Linked DNA regions of Homo sapiens: region 1 is linked to region 2. The links are contacts of gene promoters, found by promoter capture Hi-C in blood cells and fetal thymus (Javierre and others, 2016). All regions are on one chromosome and are shown on one strand. The core of a region is centred on a gene start or on the middle of the fragment in contact, and the rest is flanking DNA. Distances in the headings are between cores, read along the strand shown. Region 1 holds the start of RFPL3S (RFPL3 antisense). Region 2 overlaps LINC02558 (long intergenic non-protein coding RNA 2558).

The links. The method cuts DNA at HindIII sites, captures the fragments that hold promoters and counts their contacts. A CHiCAGO score of 5 or more calls a contact.
Region 1: the fragment with the promoter of RFPL3S here is called in contact with a fragment that was not itself captured in region 2 in 3 of 17 cell types (M0 macrophages, M2 macrophages and endothelial precursors); the score reaches 7.4 in M0 macrophages.

What each region holds. Positions count from the first base shown.
Region 1 is chr22:32,369,270-32,372,549 of GRCh38, forward strand. RFPL3S (RFPL3 antisense) reads right to left here and starts at 1,995. Exons shown (of 5, transcript NR_104232.1): 1 at 1,929-1,995; 2 at 1,630-1,672. The HindIII fragment of the contact is 20,480 bases long and covers 1-3,280 here.
Region 2 is chr22:32,017,873-32,020,828 of GRCh38, forward strand. The region is part of intron 4 of LINC02558 (long intergenic non-protein coding RNA 2558); the gene reads left to right. Among named protein-coding and RNA genes, the nearest start is that of SLC5A1, 24 kb to the right of the region's middle. The HindIII fragment of the contact is 2,616 bases long and covers 54-2,669 here.

The DNA of each region.
Region 1 (3,280 bases), core at 745-3,244, 350 kb after region 2:
CCCCATGTGAGCACCGAGGCTCTTTAACCCAGCTGTACAGGAGAGTTGCCACAAGGGTGACACCTGAGGCTAATTGTGAAGTGGTATCCTGTGTTCTGTGATTCTTGTGCCTTAGCCACCTGAGTAGCTGGAATTACAGGTGTGCACCACCACGCCCAGCTAATTTTGCATTTTTAGTAGAGATGGGGTTTCTCCATGTTGGTCAGGCTGGTCTTGAACTCCTGACCTCAGGTGATCTGCCTGCCTCGGCCTCCCAAAGTGCTGGGATTACAGGCATGAGCCACCGCGCCCAGCTGCCTTATTTATTCTTAACACATGTAAGTGCCTCTAACTTTCGATTGTTTCCAAGTCATGGAACGAACAACCTCCTTAGAAAGAACTCTGAAGGATAGGTCAGGAGAACTAAGTCACACAATCCATCAGAAACAGTATTAACAGTTTTTCAAAGTTACACTTTATATGCAAACTTGTACAATTATCATCTTATTATTTTTAAATGTATCTTTACATATATGTATGTGACCTACGTGTTTCCTGGTGTGAGTAAATCTGTATGTTCTTGGTTAATAGTGTTTACCGATTCATTTCACTTCTCTATCTTTGTATGTTGAAATATGAACTACTCTCTGGATGAGAAAAAATGATTACACTTGATTATATTTACCTTTGGAAAGGTAAGTGGTTTGGGTGATTGACTATAATTGTTATCTCTATCATTTTGGATAAACCCCAATCATAAAAATAAGTGTGTTTTGTTTCACACACTGACACATAGACAATACACATTCTTACTTCTTTTCAAAAAGTTAATATGTGAATATAAATGACATATTCCAAATTTACTAAACTGAATACACATTTCATGAAAAAGGAGAGAGGAAAGACATACTAAAAACAGGCCAGGGCCTGGTGTGGTGGCTCACGCCTGTAACACCACCACTTTGGGAGGCCGAGGCAGGTGGATCACCTGAGGTCAGGAGTTCAAGACCAGCCTGGCCAACATGGTAAAACCTTGTCTCTACAAAAATACAAAAATTAGCCGGGCATGATGGTGGGTGCCTGAAATCCCAGCTATTCGGGAGGCTGAGGCGAGAGAATCATTTGAACCCGGGAGGCGGAGGTTGTAGTGAGCCGAGATCGCACCGTTGCACTCCAGCCTGGGCGACAGAGTGAGACTCCATCTCAAAAACAAACAAACAAACAAAAAAACAACAACAAAAGACAAAGATGGACACACTTCGTTGTGTTAAAAGCCTCAAAGACATCTGCATCATTCTAGCTTTGCTCCTAATTTTTAAAATTAATGATTTTAATAGGTTCTTAATTAGGTAAAAACTGCATTAAAACATACTTTGCCATATTTTTCCCAGAAGGATACCTAATTGGGTGGTTTGAGGGGTGCCAGATGTAACAGGAAATAAGACATGTCTTTTAAATAAAGGAAAAGCTCAAAGGCATCCTGCTTGATACTAGAATCAAATATATAAATTGAGGAATAAAACATAACCGGGAAACACATTTATAACTGCATATGAAAAATACAGAGGAGAATTTTTTAATAAAATATATTTTTAAATATTAACTAGTACATTTGAGAGGACAGCATTCAACAGGCCAATGTGAACATACCTTTAATGCAGGAACTCAGGTTCCCCATAAGAAAGACCAGAATCTGTGAAAATGACAGCAAGCATGTTCAACCTGCTATGAACTTTGAAAAACTCAGCACAGACAGTGGCAGTTAGGACCGAGGGCAAGATATACCCAATCACATAACCATGGTGATAGGAGCATCATCAACGTCTCAGGGTAAAGTCACAATGTGTATTGTGAGGTCCGCTTTCTGCTGCACCAACAAGAGTGCTTTCACACGCACAGGAGGGTCATTAAAGATTAGGCCTTTTACGGCAGGGAGTGGTGGCTCACACCTGTAATCCCAGCACTTTGGGAGGCCGAGGTGGGTGGATCACGAGGTCAGGAGATAGAGACCATCCTGGCTAACATGGTGAAACCCCGTCTGTACTAAAAACACAAAAAATTAGCCGGGCGTGGTGGCGGGAGCCCCCAGCTACTCGGGAGGCTGACGCAGGAGAATGGCGTGAACCCGGGAGGCGGAGCTTGCAGTGAGCCGACATAGCGCCACTGCACTCCAGCCTGGGCGACAGAGCGAGACTCCGTAAAAAAATAAAATAAAATAAAATAAAATAAAAGATTAGGCGTTTTACTTAAAAAAAAAACAACAAAACCCAAGCTCATTAATTACTATTCTGTGCTTATTAAAATAAGTTTTAGGAGGAGAAATTGTGTACCCCAAAATACACTCAATGGCAAGAATTTCAAACTGAGCAGGGGCAAAACCGATATGTTAGTAACAACCAGAAGTTCCATTCTCGATTCGAAATTCCATTGCCAAATATTTCTACCATTCCTGAGTCATCTAATATTTCTAGAACCAATAAGCAAACTGTTCAGAATTAAAGACAGCATAAATGGATATTGTTATAAAAGTCATGTTTCTTAAAAAGTGACATTTTTTAAAGTCACATTTTAAAAGTCATATTTCCCTAAAAAGTCATATTTCTACCATTCCTGAGTGATCTAATGTTTCTAGAAGCAATAAACTGTTCAGAATTAGAAAAAAGTGTTACTTGATATTATAAAAATCATATTTCTCTCACAATATAATTATGAAACTTATTTTTCCACTTATCTCTATATATTACTATGCACTTATTTATCTCCCAAACTTTGTGAATTCACAGAGGAATTTGTCTACCATTGTGTATGTAAACGGCTGGCCATTCACTGAGTATTTAAAGGAAAAAAAAATCACTATATTTTCACCAGTGCATCTTCTCGGTGGGGTGAACACTTTGGGTGAATACATATAATTTTTTATTTGAGACAGGGTCTCACTCTGTCACTCAGGCTGGAGTGCAGTGGCTTGATCATGGCTCACTGCAGCCTTGACCTCCCAGGCTCAGGTGATCCTCCCAACTCAGCCTCCCATGTAGCTGGGACTACAGGTTCTTGCCGCCATGCTCAGCTAATATTTTGTAGAGATGGGGTTTTTCCATGGTGCCCAGGCTGGTCTTCAACTCTTGGATTCAAGCAATCCACCCACCTCGACCTCCCAAAGTATTGGGATTAGAGGCGTGAACCACCATGCCCAGCCTAATACATATAATTAAAGTGTTTCTGAATGCAGAATTTTAGATAACTTTCAAAATGTATAACTACGTGTGTATTCTGGCTGATACATAACACCCAATTGCAAATA
Region 2 (2,956 bases), core at 112-2,611:
ACAGGTATTTGTATAACTATACTTTTAATATCTATGCTCCCCACTAAACTATAAGCTTCATGAGGACAGTGCCAGGCTCTCTTAGCCATCACTGTGCCTAACACTGGGCTAGCACATAATAGATGCTCAATAAATATTAGCTGTGTGAATAAATGAATTAAAATAATGAACATAAACCACTATAATGTGAAAAATGCTGTGATAGTGAGGCAAGGTGAGGCAGAACATGGCTAACTTGTCTAACACGTCTTGCTGAGGGAGGTAGAGAGAGAGAGGCAAAAGAGACAACCATTAAGAGAGAATATTTGCATTGAGTCTTAAGGGGTAAGTAGGAGTTTCTGAGTCAACACAGTTGGGAAAAGGTATGAAGATGTCAGAACATGTGGTATATGTATTCAGAGAACTGGAAGTGCTTGTGGTCTGCATGGCTGGGCAGAACAGCAGGAGATAAGGCCAGAGATGTGGGTAGAAACTGAACCACCAGGGAGGTTGGCCAGTTTGCTAAGCATACTGGAATTCATCCCATCGAACACTGAGGAGTGAGCCAGAAAAGGAAAGGTTTCTAACCTAAGACTCATGGATGGACCCCCTCAGAGGGGGTTTCAGACATTCATTTATCCCTAAAACTCTATGCACAATTGCCATATTTGTGTTTTCTTGCAAAGAGGGCCCATGGTTTCTATTAGATTCTCAGAAAGATCAGTGACCCCAAAATAGGTTAAGAACAACCACCAGCCAGGCACAGTGGCTCACGCCTGTAATCCCAGAACTTTGGGAGGCAGAGGTGGGCAGATCGTTTGAGCTCAGGAATTCAAGACCAGCCTGGGCAACATAGTGAAACCCACCTCTACAAAAAATACAAAAATGAGCCATGTGTGGTGGCACACACCTGTAGTCCTAGCTACTCAGGAGGCTGAGGTGGGAGGACCATTTGAGCCCAGGAGGTAGAGGCTGCAGTGAGCCGTGATCATGCCACCACCACCCTCCTTGGGCATCTTAATCAGAAAATCCCACCCCCACCCCAATCTGTGACTTTCATAGTACTCATAACAAAATATAAATGTATTGTTTATTTATTTGCTTACTTGTTTATTGTCTGTCCTCTCCACTATAAGACAAGCTCTGTGAGGTCTAGGACTTTTTCTTATTCACTGCTCTATTTCCAGTGCCTAGCACACATGGCGTGGAACTTATAGCAGCTCAATAAATCCTTGCTGACAATAAATCTTATTGTAGGTATTTTTTTCATTGTGGTAAAATACACATAACATAAAATTTACCTTCATAACCATCAAGTATCCACTTCAGTGGCATTAAATACATTCATACTGTTGTGCTACCATCTCCACCACCCATCCACAGAACTCCCTTCATCTCACAAAATGGAAACTCTGTACTGTTTAAACAATACATATTAAAACAATAACTCCCCAATCTCCCACCCCCGCCCTACCCCAGTTGCCCCTGGTAACCACCATTCTACTTTCTGTCTCTATGAATCTGACTAACTCTAGGTACCTATTATAAATGGAATCACATAGTATTTGTTCTTTCATCACTGGCTTATTTCACTTTGCATAATGTCCTCAAGGTTCGTCTATGTTTTTTTTTTTTTTTTTTTTTTTGAGATGGAGTCTCACTCTGTCGCCCAGGCTGGAGTGCAGTGGCGCGGTCTTGGCTCACTGTAAGCTCTGCCTCCTGGGTTCACGCCATTCTCCTGCCTCAGCCTCTTGAGTAGCTGGGACTACAGGCACCTGCCACCACGCCCAGCTAATATTTTGTATTTTTAGTACAGACGGGGTTTCAACGTGTTAGCCAGGATGGTCTCGATCTCCTGACTTCGTGATCCGCCCACCTCTGCCTCCCAAAGTGCTGGGATTACAGGCATAAGCCACCGCGTCCGGCATCCATGTTAAAGCATGTGTCCAAATTTCCTTCCTTTTTAAGGCTGAATAATATTCCACTGTATGTATATACCACATTTTGCTTATCTATTCACCTGTTGATGGACAATTGGGTTGCTTTCACCTTTTGGCTATTGTGGATAATGCTGCTATGAACATGGGTGCATAGGGATTTTTAGTCCTTTTTGAAAGCAAGGTAATCACAGAATTGGTGGGCGGATGGACAGATACATGGTTACATGGATGGATGATAAATGAATGGATGGGTAGGTAGACGGATGGATGGATCGATGGGTAGATGAATAATAGATGGATAGATAAATGAAAGCACTCCGAACTGAGAATTAGGAGAGCTGTTTCCTGTCCTGGATGTGATACTTTTCACATGTATGACACACCAGGCATCAGAGATACTGTGAGGTAACAGTGATCCCATTGTAACAATGGCAGTAGTAGTGAGTTAAGAGGAGTTTCAAAATATTTATAAAGATGAGTAACTCTGTGATAATTCATGATCACAGTTGGCATGTGTCAGTAAAAGGATTGTGTACTAGAACTTAAGGTATTGCTGACTAAGGAGAATGGGGTTTCCCTGTGTGATAACCCTGGGAAAGAAGAGAGTGACTCATGTTGGGTAAAACCACATTGAGTACCAAATATAGAACAACTGGAACATTAGTCAAAAGAACATAAACAGTATCAATGAAAATTCAGGAGCTTGCACCACAGAGGATACTGGCAGTGAATGAGTACAAATGCCAAAGAAGCTTGTATAAATGAAGAGTGCAGAGAGAGGAGATCTTGAGGATATTGAGCTCTGTGCTGAACTGGCCCACAGGATTTGCTCAAACATAGTCTCACCATCCATGGCAACTATAAGAACCAATCTCAACAGAAAAAGGAAAGAAAACATAAAGCTTATATAGAAAGAAATACAAATGGCACACAAACATATTGAAATATACCAAATCTCTCTCTAATAAGATAAATGCAATCAAAACTACAGTGAGATACTATTTTTTACTTACTAGACTGGAAAATATCATAAACAA